4 separate regions of the Homo sapiens genome follow, and all the other regions are linked to region 1. The links are contacts of gene promoters, found by promoter capture Hi-C in blood cells and fetal thymus (Javierre and others, 2016). All regions are on one chromosome and are shown on one strand. Each heading gives the region's core, a stretch centred on a gene start or on the middle of the fragment in contact. The rest is flanking DNA. Distances are from core to core; before and after follow the strand shown. Region 1 holds the start of CHD9 (chromodomain helicase DNA binding protein 9). Region 2 overlaps CHD9 (chromodomain helicase DNA binding protein 9). Region 3 overlaps CHD9 (chromodomain helicase DNA binding protein 9). Region 4 overlaps CHD9 (chromodomain helicase DNA binding protein 9).

Region 1 (3,757 bases), core at 844-3,343:
TCCTCCTCCTCCTGCTCCTCCTCCTGCTCTGCCTCCTCCTCCTCCCCCTGCTCCTGCTTCTCCTCCTCTTCCTCCTGCTCCTTCTCCTCCTCCTCCTGCTCCTCCTCCTGCTCTTCCTCCTCCTCCTGCTCTTCCTCCTCCTCCTCCTGCTTCTCCTCCTCTTCTTCCTCCTGCTCTTTCTCCTCCTCTTCCTGCTCCTCCTCTCCTTCTGCTCCTCCTGCTTCTCCTCCTCCTGCTCCTCCTCCTCCACCTGCTCCTCCTCCTTCTCCTCCTCCTGCTCCTCCTCCTTCTGCTCCTTCTTCTCCTGCTCCTCTTCCTCCTGCTCCTGCTTCTCCTCCTTTCTCCTGCTCCTCCTCCTCCTGCTCCTCCTCCTGCTCCTCATCCTCCTTCTCCTCCTGCTCCTCCTTGTCCTCCTCTGCCCTTGATATTCACTTTGACCAGATTACACCAGTACAGAGAGTCCAAAGGTTAAATAGGCACACACTCACACACAAACTCACACTGGGCTAGAACAATGACAGAGCGTCCTGGGGGAGCAGAGTGGGGGCCGGGGGGAGGGGGAAAGGAGGATTGCAGGCCTAACTTTCACAAATCACCTGAAATTTCCACTGAAGGCATTATCTCCAAATGTTGCCACAGAGATAAACTGCCAGGATTACAAGAAAACGTGAAGACGTTCCCATAGAACTCTGTAATGCTTATATCCATCACCAGGAATGTCTGCCCTTGGCGCCCTAAACATAGATTGATTGATTGATTGATTGATTGATTTTGAGGCAGAGTCTCACTCTGTCACCCAGGCTGGAGTGCAGTGGTGCGATCTCAGCTCACTGCAACCTCCTCCTTCCGGGTTCAAGGGATTCTCCCACCTCAGCCTTGGAGTAGTTGGGATTACAGGCTCCTGCCACCACGCCCGGCTAATTTTTGTATTTTTTGTAGAGACTGGGTTTTGCCATGTTGGCTAGGCTGGTCTCAAACTCCTGACCTCAAGCGATCCTCTTGCCTCAGCCTTCCAAAGTGCTGGGATTACAGGCGTGAGCTACGGTGCCTGGCCCTAAATATAGATATTTTTAATAAATCCTCTACTTATCTCACAACGAGCTCAATCGCTTTGCATTAGATCGTTGGGTGTGTTAAAAGTATTCATGTGTTACATTAAATGTGAATTCAACAAAAGCAGAGATTTTTGTGTTTTGTTCTTCATTGTATCCCTTGATTGTAGAAAAGTGGCACATAGTAGGTGCTCAGTTAATCGTTGTTAAATGAAGACATAAATGAAATATAAACCATTAAATGTCCACCATATTTGTAAGCGTTTTGGCATGTCTTCATTGAAAGAATACCAGGCAGCTGGGAGCCATAGTTTACTCCGGTAATCCCAGTGCTTTGGGAGGCTGCAGGTGAGAGGATCGCTTGAGACCAGGAGTTCAAGAGCCACCAGGGCAACATAGAGAGACCTTGTCTCTACAAAAACAAAACAAAACAAAACAAAAAACAAAAAACACAATTCCCTTAAGCCGCCCCTTCCCCTTCCACTGCTCAGAGAAGGCCTTCCAGCAGAGCAGAGCACGAGGTCGCTGGCACACACCCATCCTCCACCAGTCCTGGCCTCTGTAGAGCAAGCCAGCAGAGCAGGCTGTTTCTCTCATTCAGGGACGGTTTAGGGGGTGGCAGGAAAAAATGGTTGCTGATAGGCGAAGGGCCTCCCTGGGTTGGAGAGAACCCCAGCCTCGGATGGTCCCAGCACATTTAAAAGAGAAGCAGTGCCAAAGGTGGGGTGCACTGAAAGCTGCTGGATGAAGGGAAAGATCCTTGTGCTCAGCCCGGAAAACCGGAGGATGGATACCAGGCCGAGGGGTCCCTCCGTGCCCCAAGAGAAAGTTCACCAAGTTTAGATCCCAGTGCCCCGCAGCGGGTGAAGGTGGTCCCGCCCCAGGCCGGATCTGGCCACAGGGCTGGCGGCGCGCTGGAAAACCGCCCACGTGGGAAGAAGCCCTGGCTGCATTTCCGCCCTGGACTGCGCTCCCGCCTGCCAGCGCGGTCCCTGCGCAGCCGCCCCGCGCCCACTAGGTGGCGCCTGCGCTCTAGTGGGCGCTTCACAGGCGCAGCGACAGCGACAGCGACAGCTCGAACCTGAGTCCCAGGATTCCGGGGACTGGAGGGCAGCGCCGGCAGCCAAGGTAGGATTCCTGAGCCCCGGGCGTCTCCCTGGAGCCTCTGAGGTCGGGGTGGACAGCGGGGCGGCCGCTGGGCACCGCTTGCGGTCTGCAGAGATAACCGGAGGAGTCGGGGCGGCAGCACGTGTTGTAGCCGTGGGGGGGACCCAGAGACCCGCAGCCTCGGAGCTGGGCCTAGAGCAAGGCAGAGCACCAGGTCGCTGGCACGCTCGCATCCTCCCCAGCCCTCGCCTCCCAGAGCATGCCCGAATCCCCAAGCCGGGCGTCCTCGAAGCGGAAAGCAGCCACTGTCGCCCAGAGCCACTCCAGGGTGGCAGCCGAGTGCTGATAAGGTCCAGAGCACCACTTCTTAAACTTGTCTGCCCGTTGGCGTTGCTTGGGAAGCATTAAAAAAATACCGATGCCCTAGTTCCACCCCCGCCCCCCCCCAGAGACTCAGATGTGATTGGTCTGGGTGGGGGACTGGACATCTGGGTATTAAAATGTTTGCAAGAGATTCCAGCTGGCAGCCAAATTTGAGGACCCTTGATCTAAGGAGTTGGAGAAAAACGGAGGACATTTGTTTGTTCTAACCCAGAATGCTGATGATTCCCTCCTCCTCCTATTCCTCCAGTTCGCCCTCCTCCTCCTTTCTCATGTGCCTTTTAAGCAGGAAATGCCTCTGCCTTTGTACTGTCAAACCCAAGATAACAAACTAACCATCCCCCACCCCCCACAGTAGGGCTGGTTCTGAAAGGGTTGAACTCGAAAGTGGACAAGGAACAGAAAGACACCAGTGTGGAATGTGAGCGAAGACTCTTAGGGGTTTATGGGTAGGAAGGGGGTTCCTCCCCACCCTGATCCCAGAGAAGATCAGGAGACTGGCTGGAGCTGTCTTCCTCATTTTGGCAAACCTAGCTGATTAGGCAGTGAGAGGCCTTATAACGAGCCTTTTTTACAACTAGTAAAAGGGCCCTTTTACAACTAGTAAAAATGAGCCCTTATGTTTGTTTGTTTTATAGAGATAGGGCCTCACTATATTCCCCAGGATGGTCTCAAACTCCTAGGCTCAAGCCATTCTCCAGCCTCGGCCTCCCAAAGTGCTGGGATTATAGGCATGAGCCGCTGCGCCCCGCTGACCCCTTATGTTTATATAACAGCAGTGTTACTAACATGGGCATAGATTCCCCCCCATAGGCAGCCCTTCCTTTGTGACCTTGGAAACTCACTGAACCATCCTCAGCTTCAGTTTTTGTATCTGCAAAATGGGTGTGAAAATCGGGTTGCCTTGGGAATTATTCACAATAAAAGCTACTGTTTACTAAGGGTTCACCCTATGCTAGAGGCTTTCTGTGCAGGGCCAAGTTAGACTCCTGACCATAACTTCCACGGTAGAACTATGAATACTGCATTTGATAGCCAAGGAAACTGAGGCTCAGAGAGGCCAATGATCTTGCTCGAAGTTATATAATTAATTAATAAGAAGCATGTCCCATATTTGAACCCAGGCAGTCTGCTCTTGAGCTCAGGTGCAAAAGAACAATACTCTGCTGTTTCCCTTGTTGACCAGGACAGCGTGCACGGGGCAGGCGCGTGGTGTG
Region 2 (3,757 bases), core at 361-2,860, 210 kb after region 1:
GAGTATATTTTTTATCTTCTTAGAATCATTAAAATTTACTTTTAAAGTACTCTATTTTTAGCATATATTTAAGAGCAGAATGATGAGATTATCCTCAAGTATTTAAATTTTCAAAGTATCACTAAAGTCAAACTTCTTGTCCTTAAATTCGCATATTCAGTAATACAAATTAGATGTTATCCATTACTGAATAAAATATACTAGAAATTACTATACCATTCCTCTACATTCTATGCATGGGTAGGGAAGACTTAATTAGCAAAAATGACAATTTTTTAAAGTTTTTCATTCCTTTTATCTATGAGTTAATATTTTTCTCTAGAACTTGACTCAATATCAATGTAACTATACCTTTTTTAACCAGGTGGGGCCGATGGAGAGAGATTCTATCTCATGGCCGTTTCAAAAGGCAGCTAAATGAACACGATGTAGAGATAATTTGCCGAGCTCTCTTAGCATATTGCCTTGTTCACTACCGAGGAGATGAGAAGATTAAAGGTTTCATATGGGATCTCATTACTCCAACTGAAGATGGACAGACACGAGAGCTACAGAATCATCTAGGTAAGAACATTGTTTCATTTGCTTTTAAAATTTATTTTTAGTTATATAAGTAATACTTAACATATTCTCCTATAAAATATAAAAGCATTACAAATAATATTAAGGAACCTTAACCTTCACTCCCAATTCAAGTTCCAGCTTCAGAAAATGCCAGTGTTATCAGTTTGGTGGATTTTACATTTTGTTATCAAATACGTATCTGTTTGGAATTGATGACCCAACTAAATGTCTTAGAGGTCTTTCCGTCTATGCTCAGATAGATCTATCTCATTTTTTAAGTTCTGCTTAGTATTCCGTAGTATGGATATTCCATAATTTATTTAGTATCTCCTTTGATGATGGGTGTTTAGGTAGTTTCAATTTTAGACAATTAAAAAACAAGTTTCAGAGAAGATCCATGTACCCTCCTCCTTGTGCATATAAATAAATCTTTCACTAAAGTAGATATCAAGAATGGAATTATTAAAGTATAGCTTATATACATCTTTAGAACCTAAAATGTGGTCTCTGGGTCAGCAGCATCAGCATCTTCTGGAAGCTTCTTAGAAATGCAGAATCTTAGGCCTCAGATTTACTGAATAAGAATCTGCATTTTAACAAGATCCATAGGAATTAGTGTACATATTAAAGTTTGAGAAACATTGATATGCAATTTTAAATTTTCATAATACTTTTTAATTTTTGTTTATTATTTGAGACAGGATTTTGCTCTGTCCCCCAGGCTAGAGTACAGTGATGCAAACATGGCTCAATGCAGCCTCAACCTCCTGGGCTTAAGCCATCCTTCTGCCTCAACCTCCTGAGTAGCTGGGACCACAAGCATGTAGCACCACACCCGGCTTTTAAAAATTTTTTTATATTGCAGAGTCAGGGTCCTACCATGTTGCCCAGGCTGGTCTTGAACTCCTGAGCTCAAGCAATCCTTCCCCCTCAGCCACCCGAAGTGCTGGGATCACAGACATGAGCCACCATGCCTGGCCTAAATTTTCATTATACTTTAATTTGCTGTCCAAAATGGTTATGCCAATTTACAATCCTCTCAGAGGTATACGCTAGTACTTTTTGCTCCTTAGCCTTCCTAACAGAACATTCTTTTTTGCATGAAATAATTATTTTATAGCATAAAATAATTGAATTTCCAGTAAAAAATAAAAAGAATTACTATGCCCTTAAATTTGTTACAATTTTATTCTACTTAATCAAAAAATATCTGTTGAATGGCTGGTGTGTGTCTTGTGCAAGGTGTTGAAAAGATAAGAAGAAACAAGATAGACAAGATCCCTGAGCTCATGAACCTTACATTCTAACCAGGTAGACAGACATAGTAAGAATGTACATTAGTTATAGATTGTGGTAATTACTGTGAAGTAAATAAACTATTGAGATGGAAAACAACAGAAAGCACCCATTTTAGATAGGGTGGTCAGTGTAGGCCTATTTTAATAGGAGACAGTGAGTTTAATTAATGTGAAGACCTGACTTCTAGGTAGATGGAAGAATCACACAAATGTAATTTCACTCTTTCTTGAAACTCCACTAGAAAAAAGTAAGGCACTAAGCTTAACAAATTCTACAGAACAAAAGACTTGGATTCCTCAACAAATAAATTATCGGATTAGGAGTGAATAGAGAGGTATCTATTCACAGCCAAAGATGACTTTCTGCCCCAATCCCACCCCTACCACAGACTATCACAACCTTCAGCGTGTTACTGGCATCTAGTGGGTAGAGGCCAGGAGTTCACAGATAGTCTCCCGCCCCCCACAATGAAGAAATATCCTGCTCAAAATATTGTAGTGCCAAGATTGAAACCCTGCTATAACCTAAAAGAGATTGAAAAGTTATCAGCCAGTTGCAGTGTGGGGTCTGGGGACTTTATTTTTATTTTTATGTTTTGTGACAGGGTCTCGTTCTGTTGCCCAAGCTAGAGTGTTGTGACGTGAACACGGCTCACTGCAGCCTCAAACTCCTGGGCTCAAGTGATCCTCCTCCCCTATAGCTGGGAGTACAGGCGTGTACCATCACACCTGGCTAATTTTTTTTTTTTTTTTTTTTTTTAGAGGTGGAGTCTCACTTTGTTGCCCAGGCATGTCTCAAAATTCCTGAGCTCAAGTGATCCTCCTGCCTCAGCCTCCCAAAGTGCTGTGGGGGCTTTATTTAGATCCTGATTGAAACAAATAACCCAGAGGAAATGTTTTATTATCTTTATTAACTAATTAGAATGTTGAATACCAAATATTAAGAAGCTATTATTGCATCTTAGGGCTGATAATAGTGTTGTAGCTATTTTAATGGAGGCTTTATCACTAAATAGATACCTCTGTTAAATTAAATTTAGATACCACTAAATATCTTTTAGATATTGCTAAAAGATACCGTTGATATTTATGAATGAAATGATTGATTTATTACATTTACTTCAAAATAATGTGAAAGATTGGGGGTGAACAAAATTGGCCATGAGTTGATAATTATTGAATGTGGATAATGGGACTGTTGTATATACTTGTATTCTATAATTTTAAAATAAGCATAAACTCTCAAAAATGGGAGAGGAAACGGCAACAAGATTTTGGAAGCTGGAGGCAAATATATTAGTGGTAACTGATTTAACCAACCTGAGAGGGCTGAATCTTAGGTCAGCAGTGGGAAAGGCAAACTGCTTTGCTTTACAGATTTCCCAAATGTCTTAGGAATTTGTGACATCAGGAACCTCTGGAAGTGGGTGTATAAGGATAGAAGCTTTCATTCAAAGCGGTTTAAAAAAAGGCCCTAAATACCCTCTTCAGTTCCATGTAGCCAGGATGAAAACTGACTCAAAATTTTTTCTCTGGAAAGAGTAAAATAGAAGTCTGGATTGCACTGGTAGTTGAGTTGTAGAGCTACTAAATAGGGATTAAATAACTGTGTGCATTCTGGTTGTTCTATTACTCAAGGAATAAAACTAAAGGGCTTGCCCCAAACCTAAAGATAATGACAGGAGAAAAAAAAAAAACCCAGCCAGTTACCCTTCAGTGAGCCCACAATCACTATGCTCCATCCCTTCAGTCTCCCTATCACCTTTTTTATTTGTCACACTTAAATAAGAGCAAAAACAGCCAAGGATTATCAGGCATCTCAGGAAAGTCTCTAACATGAAAGAGAGAGACAAAAAACCATTGGCTGGGCACGGTGGCTCACCCCTGTAATCCCA
Region 3 (3,757 bases), core at 357-2,856, 190 kb after region 1:
TGTAATCATCCATATCTTATAAAAGGTAGCTAAAAAAGATTACAACAAATATGTTTTTTCTTGCAACAAATACTAATGAATAAATAAACAGAACACACTACAGCTGTAGTGGCTGTTATGACTCTCCACTGTGATATTCTAAGGAATTACAAGTGTTACAGAATCAGAGGCAATGTGAACTGCTTTGTTACAGTGACTGATGTTAACACACCAGGTTATGACAGCAGCAGTTTGTTCAGTATAATTTGGACTAGAATTTGTCCTCTTGTTTAATCCTCCTCATAGGCAAAGACAGCAAAGCCCATTTTTGGGGCTTCTGCATTGCCATTTTTTTCCTGGTTTCCTTCCAGTCAAGATACATCAGTTAGTGTTTCAATTCTTGTGCTGTAATAATGTTACTTTTTAAGATCTTATCAGGTTCTTTCCCAGTGTTCTCTCTGTACAATGTTTGGGTTTTTCACTTATTCTTGGGAATATACGCCTCTCTACTCACTTTATTCAAGACAACTGAAGTCTCTTGTAGTTACAGTACTCTCTTATGGCTAGACAGGCTGAGGAAAGGAATACAGAGAGCCTCTTTAATTCTGATTTGGATTATCCGAAGGAAGTATGCATCAAGCACCTGTAACATGGCTTTCATTTTAATTTATTCTCTTCTTTCTTTCTTTTTCTGTGTTTTTTTGTTGTTGTTGTTTGTTTTTGTTTTTGTTTTAAGATACAGTGTCATTCTATCACCCAGGCTGGAGTACAGAGGTGTGTTCATAGCTCACAGTAGCCTCAAGCTCCTGGAAACTGACCCTTCTGCCTCAGCCTCCTTAGTAACTAGAACTAGGCATATGCACCACCATACCCAGCTGATTTCTTTTTTTTTTCTTTTTGGTAGAGATGGGGTCTTGTTATATTGCTCAGGCTGGTCTCAAACTCCTGGCCTCAGGAAATCCTTCTGCCTTGGCCTCCCAAAGTGCTGAAATTACAGGCACGAGCCACTGCACCTAGCCTTAATTTTTTCTTGTTTCCTTGTTTTGATGGCTAACAAGATGCCCATAGACACATCCAGATCAACTATGATCATCCTTCAGTGATGACCACTGTTATGATTGCTGTTTAAATATTAGATATTTAAAAATATATGTGTTTACTCAACTGAGTTAGGACCACAGTTTTATTTTTTCCCTAATAACATTCATTAAACATTTGGCAAACATAAATTTATAAAAGGCATTATGCCAGGTATCTGAGGAGACAAAAAGATGTTTAAGACCTTGTCTGTGTCCTCAATGGAATTACAGTCTGGTATTGGTGGAGGTTCAGCAACAAGCTTAAATAATTCTAATAAAAGCAATGTACATGCCATTAGAAAATTATGTTACAGAAGCACACAGGAGCACTAATTGTGATTAAAAGGAAAGCAATTGGGAATTTCCTGCATTTGCACATTGCTGTTATCTTCTCCTATTTCTTTGACAGGTGCTGAGGAGAAAATACTTGGAGAATTTAGAGATACTTACAATCCAGCTGCTTCTGATTTTCATCTTCAAGCAATGATCCAGTCTGCTGGTAAATTGGTCCTTATTGATAAATTGCTTCCCAAAATGAAAGCCGGAGGTCATAAAGTGCTCATCTTCTCTCAAATGGTTCGTTGCCTTGACATTCTGGAGGACTATCTCATACATAAAAGGTAAAGCATACTGAATTTACTGTGAATTATGCTAAGTATATGCTATTAAGATTTGTGCAGCACTGTAATGTAAATGAACTTTACTCATATCTTTCTCTTTGCTAGATTAGAATAATGCATTCAAATTTATAAGTAAAGATTGTTTAGGATTATGTGTTATATTTTCCTAACCTGCATATGTTGCAATATTAGATGTGCCTGAGGAGTCCAATTAAGAAAAGCTTGCAAATAAATATTTGTTTACCCAGGAATGGGTTTAAAAATGTACATTTTACTTGATTAATAAACCTTGTGGATGAAACTTTAAATAGATATATATTTACAACAGTCATCTTCAAAATTGAAAAAAGTGATTCAAGAACTTTGGATCTATTTCATTGTTATAATTAGAGCCTTAAGTTGTGGGACTTTTATTCTTATTATATACTATATAAAATTTGTTCATGCTTTAATTTTTTCTGATTTGTTTCAATGTGGGTTTTTTGTTTTGTTTTGTTTATTGGTACATCACAATAAGATAGTGTTAAATATTGTCTAATCAGGCCGGGCGCGGTGGCTCACGTCTGTAATCCCAGCACTTTGGGAGCCTGAGGCAGGCGGATCATGAGGTCAGGAGATCAAGACCATCGTGGCTTACACGGTGAAACCCACGTCTCTACTAAAAAAAAAAAAAATACAAAAAATCAGCCGGGCATGATGGCGGGCACCTGTAGTCCCAGCTATTCGGGAGGCTGAGGCGGGAGAATGGCGTGAACCTGGGAGGCAGAGCTTGCAGTGAGCCGAGATCGTGCCTCTGCACTCCAGCCTGGGCGACAGAGCGAAACTCTGTCTCAAAAAAAAAAAAAAAATTGTCTAATCAGTATTTAGGCTATAATAGGCTAATTATCGTAGGATATTTTATCAGACCATTAGGATTCCATCTGATAGTAACATATTAATGTAAAAGAGAATCAGAAATTTCAGCTATAGATTTTTTATTTTATTTTTTTTTGTTTGTTTTTGCTTTGTTGGTTTTTTTTTTTGTTTTTTTTTTTTTTTTGAAGACAGGGTCTCACTGTGTTGCCCAGGGTGTTGTGCAGTGGTGTGATCATAGCTCATTGCAACCTCGAACTCCTGAGCTCAAGCAATCCTCCCACCTCAGCCTCCCAGGAAGCTGGGACTACAAGCATGCACTACCACACCCAGCTAATTTATTTTGGGTAGAGACAGGGTCTCACTGTGTTGCCCAAGCCGATCTCAAACTCCTGGGCTCAAGCAGTTCTTCCACCTCAGCCTCCCAAAGTGCTAGGATTATAGGCATGAGCCACTGCACCTGGCTTGCAGATTTTAATTCAATAGATTTTAACCCATATAGATAAGTAAAGGTCTATACTGATTTATATTATTAGAGATTATGTAGTTCATTTTTATTTTTCATTTTTATTTCTAGTTCCATTTTTATTGTCAATGTCCTACTCTTTAGCCTCATTTTAAAATGTATAGTATTCTCAATTTTATATCATGTGATACGAACATTAAGTTGCACTGTTCCCAAAAATAGTAATTCTTATATTTTTTTAATCTTCTTACGTGGAGAACTTCATACAGATAAAATTACTTATCAATTTCTGTTGTAATAAATTTCATGGAAAATTCAGAGTTTCTTTATTGTCATAACAAACATTATTAGAAGTCTCCATTTTGCAGGTACCAGAGATAACCGCGGAGAGACTGCTAAAACTCTAGTAAATCATATGTAGAAGTGTGTCAGATGTCATATGTATACCACTTAGAGTCCAAGCTCCTAAATTTTTATGTATTTTATTTTTATTTGATGTCTTGCAGTTTTTGAGTTTTGTATATGTTAAATGGGGAAGGATAAAGGAAGTTAAAAGATAATCACTTTGCAGTAATGACTATAAAGAATTCAACAGCATTCCAGTGTATTCTTAATAGATTGCAATATAGAAGCAAGTATGTCAGTCGAGAGTAACATGGATTAAGGACAAAAGAAACATTCATAGCCTTCTTGTATAAAGTTTTTGTGAAAGTATTTCTTGCAAAAAAGTAATATATTATGATGAGATCAGCAAAGCAGTT
Region 4 (3,757 bases), core at 344-2,843, 130 kb after region 1:
GCATAATATTTTCAGAGTTCATATATGTTGTAGCATGTAACAGCACTTCATTTTTAATTGCCAAATAATATTCCATTGTATGGATATGTACCACATTTTATTCATTTATTAGTGATGGATATTTCAGTTGTTTCCACTTCTTGGCCATTATGAATGATGCTGCTATGAATGTTCCCATACAGGCTTTCTTTTCTCTTGCATATATTCCTAGGAATGGAATTGCTGGATTATATAATTCTTTCTTATGTTTGACCTTTTGGGTAACTTTTATATTTTTCCAGAGCAGCTGTACCATTTTACATTCCCACAGGTAGTGTATAAGGGTTCCAATTTTTCCATACTTGCCAATGCCTGTTTTTATGTCTTTTTTTTATTGTAGCCATCTTGGTATAAAGTAATGTCTTGTTGTGGTTTTGATTTGCATTTCCCTGATTGCTAATGATACTGAGCATTTTTTCATGGGCTTACTGGTCATTACCTTTTTTTTTTTTTTTTTTTTTTTTTTTTGAGATGGAAGCTGGCGTGCAGTGGTACCATCTCGGCTCACTGCAACCTCCACCTCCCAGGTTCAAGCAGTTCTTCTGCCTCAGCCTCCCGAGTAGCTGCAATTACAGGTGCTTGCCACCACGCCTGGCTAATTTTTTGTATTTTTAGTTTCATCTTGTTGGCAAGGCTGGTGTCAAACTCTTGACCTCAGGTGATCTGCCCACCTCAGCCTCCCAAGGTGCTGGGATTACAGGCGTGAGCTACCGTGCCTAGCATTGTATCTTTTTTTTAGAGAAATGTCTATTCAGATCTTTTGCCCATATTTAAATTGGGTTACTTATTTTTGTTACTGATTTGTAGGAGTTATTTATATATTTTAGATACAAATCTCTTATCAGGTTTTTTAAATTGAAAAAGCTTGACATCAGATATTTGATTTGCAGATTTCCTTGGGTTTTTTTTTCATTTGAAAGATCGTAGCTTCCAAATATAAAGATTAAAGATAATTTTATTTCTTGCTTTCCAATCTAGGTGTTTTTTATTGCTTTTTCTCTTCTAATTGCCCTGACTAGAATTTTCAGAACAGTGTTGAATAGAAGTGACAAGAGTAGATAACCTTGTCTTGTTCATGATCTTAGGGAAAAGCATTCAGTCTTTCACCATTAAGTACTGTATGATGTTAGTTGTGGGTTTTTCATACATGCCTTTTATTATGTTGCAAAGGTTTCTTTTTATTCCTAGTTTGTTTTGTGTTTTTATCATGAAAAGATGTTGAAACTTTGTCAGATTCTTTTTCTTCATCGCATTTAGTTTTTATTTGTGATCATTTTAGTTTTTATTCTTTATTCTGTTGATATGATTTTCAGATATTAGCCTTGCACTCCTAAAATAAATCCTACTTGTCGATGGTATGTATCTCTCTCTCTATATATATATGTATTATATATATTTTTTTTTCCTGGATTAGGTTTGCTATTATTTTGTTGAAAATATTTGTGTCTGTATTAGCAAAAGATACTGCTCTGCAGTTTGAATTTATGATTTGTACTAGCGTTTGCTGTGTTTGTATTTTGGCTTTAATGGGTCATCCTGGATAATTGCATTAAACTGAACAATTAGCAAAATATTTTTATAGCCTTTTATCAGACTTTAGTGCATTTGTAGACTGTGCAATTTTTTCCATGTCTTACAGGATGATAGCGGAGGTATAAATGAAGATATATTTTATTCAAATATTTGAGATCAACAAAATAGACGGAAAGCTAATGTTGACAGTATATGTGACCTGTAATCATTTAAGTACTTTTGTACTTGTTTTTTTGCATCTATATTATGGGGATACACTTTAATATTACATTTATTATCCCTCAACCTCTTATTTAAAATACTTTTGAGTATTCTAAAAATGTCACATTGAACCATGATTTTCCCCCAACCCTACCTCCCAAACTAGAACAGAACCAACAAACTTCTGGTCCACATTGGTCCCCAAATTATTCTTAATATCACCTTTCCCATTGAAGAGCAAATTACTGATTAAATCTCTCTATTTGTAAGATTATAGCAGTTTACAATATGGCTTTCTTTCCAGATGGTAGAGGTGGGTGGAGACAAACCTAATTTCTTTCTCAATTAAAAACGTTTTATACTAGAAGAAATAAAATGGGTTTTGAAAGATATAAAAGAGTTGTTTTTGTCTACACTGAGAATCAAAAATTTTATAGTTTTGCTACCCAATCCATTCAAGCTCATTTTCTGCTCGTTCTCTGTGGACTCTGAGAATGAGCCTTTAATATGTTAAGCTTTATCATGACGCGCCAAGGAGGAGGAAATACAAGGCTGCATCTCAGAATTTTACATGAATCTGAGTGTTTTAATATCTCACAATTTCCTGGAATATAACTTACGAAATTTTTTTCTACACAGTTATTTCACTTGTTATGCCTTTGGTTATGCTTATCTTCCTCCATTGAATATCTTATTATCTCATCATTATAAAAATTAGCTTATTTTCTGAGAACACTTTCAAGTCTTCCTTGCCCCTCTAGTTTATATTGATTTACCATTTTCCCCATATCTCTGGTGTGTTTCCCAGAGAGTCTGTTTTTTGTACCTCTATGTAATAGGTTATTAGCAAATATTTTCTAAATTGAGTATCTGCCACTAACAACAGGCCAGCATAAATTATAGAAATTAGTATAATATAATCTAATTTTACTTTGTAGTCAAATAATTAAAACTAATAAAAGAAGAGGAGTTATTAAACAGATAAGTCAGGGTAAAATTAATCCTGTTACATATGTCCACTTAGTAAGTACATTTTAAAATCAATTTTATTGAGGCATAATTTACATACAATGAAATGTACCCATTTTAAGTGTAATCTGATGATTTTTGACAAATATATACAATTAGGTAATCATTACCGCAATTAAGATATAAAATGTTTTTATAACCCTAAAAAGTTCCTTATGCCCCATTGCAGGTAGTCTTCCTCCCATCCCTGGCCCCAGGCAATCACTGATTTACTTTCTGCCACTATAGATTAGTTTTGCCTGTTTTTAATTTCATATAAATGGAATCATGCTGTACCTACTTTTTTCTTTATGGCTTTTTCACCATTTATATTATTTTAAACATTTATGTCTTCTCATGTATCAGTTCATTTCTTTCTCATTCTTTCTTTTTTTGAGTTATAATTTACACACAGTCAAAAGTCACTCTTTTTAGTGAACAGTTCTAACTGACAGATATATACATATAAGTAGCTACACCAGTAATCAAGATAAAGAATAATTACATCAGCCCTCAAAATTTCTTCCTACCTCTTTCAACCACCACTGCTGGCAGCCTCTGATTTGTTTTTTGCTCCTATAGTTTTTCCTTTTTGAGAATGCTATGTAAACGTTATCATACAGTTTGTAGCCTTTTGAGTCTGGTTTCTTTTATTCAGCATAAGGCATTTGTGATTCAGTCATGTTGTCTAAGGCAGTAGTTTGTTCCTTTTTATGACTGATTGGCTTTCCAGTTTATAGATACACCACAATTTACTCATATGCCTCTTGATGGACACTTGGAGTTTTTACTAATTTATGCCTATTATGAGTAATGCCTCTAAGAACATTCAAGTTCAGTCTTTTTGTGGATATATGTTTTCATTTATTTTGGGTAAATATTGTCAGAATGGGGTTACTGGGTCACAAGTTTATGTGTAGCTGTGTAACAAATTGTGACCTTTCAAAAGTGGTTGTACTCTTTTACATTCCCACCA

What was found. The method cuts DNA at HindIII sites, captures the fragments that hold promoters and counts their contacts. A CHiCAGO score of 5 or more calls a contact.
Region 2: a contact is called between a fragment that was not itself captured here and the fragment with the promoter of CHD9 in region 1, in 2 of 17 cell types (total B cells and erythroblasts). The highest score is 6.0, in total B cells.
Region 3: a contact is called between a fragment that was not itself captured here and the fragment with the promoter of CHD9 in region 1, in 1 of 17 cell types (naive B cells). The highest score is 7.4, in naive B cells.
Region 4: a fragment that was not itself captured here is called in contact with the fragment with the promoter of CHD9 in region 1 in 5 of 17 cell types (total B cells, naive B cells, monocytes and 2 more); the score reaches 8.7 in total B cells.

The regions. Positions count from the first base shown.
Region 1 is chr16:53,052,898-53,056,654 of GRCh38, forward strand. CHD9 (chromodomain helicase DNA binding protein 9) reads left to right here and starts at 2,094. Exons shown (of 39, transcript NM_001308319.2): 1 at 2,094-2,180. RefSeq lists enhancers at 2,388-2,919, 2,432-2,481. The HindIII fragment of the contact is 11,983 bases long and covers 1-3,757 here.
Region 2 is chr16:53,267,563-53,271,319 of GRCh38, forward strand. It overlaps CHD9 (chromodomain helicase DNA binding protein 9), which reads left to right. Exons shown (of 39, transcript NM_001308319.2): 22 at 365-564. Among named protein-coding and RNA genes, the nearest start is that of RBL2, 170 kb to the right of the region's middle. The HindIII fragment of the contact is 1,021 bases long and covers 1,101-2,121 here.
Region 3 is chr16:53,245,826-53,249,582 of GRCh38, forward strand. It overlaps CHD9 (chromodomain helicase DNA binding protein 9), which reads left to right. Exons shown (of 39, transcript NM_001308319.2): 15 at 1-25; 16 at 1,468-1,678. Among named protein-coding and RNA genes, the nearest start is that of RBL2, 190 kb to the right of the region's middle. The HindIII fragment of the contact is 581 bases long and covers 1,317-1,897 here.
Region 4 is chr16:53,188,124-53,191,880 of GRCh38, forward strand. The region is part of intron 2 of CHD9 (chromodomain helicase DNA binding protein 9); the gene reads left to right. Among named protein-coding and RNA genes, the nearest start is that of CHD9, 140 kb to the left of the region's middle. The HindIII fragment of the contact is 1,385 bases long and covers 902-2,286 here.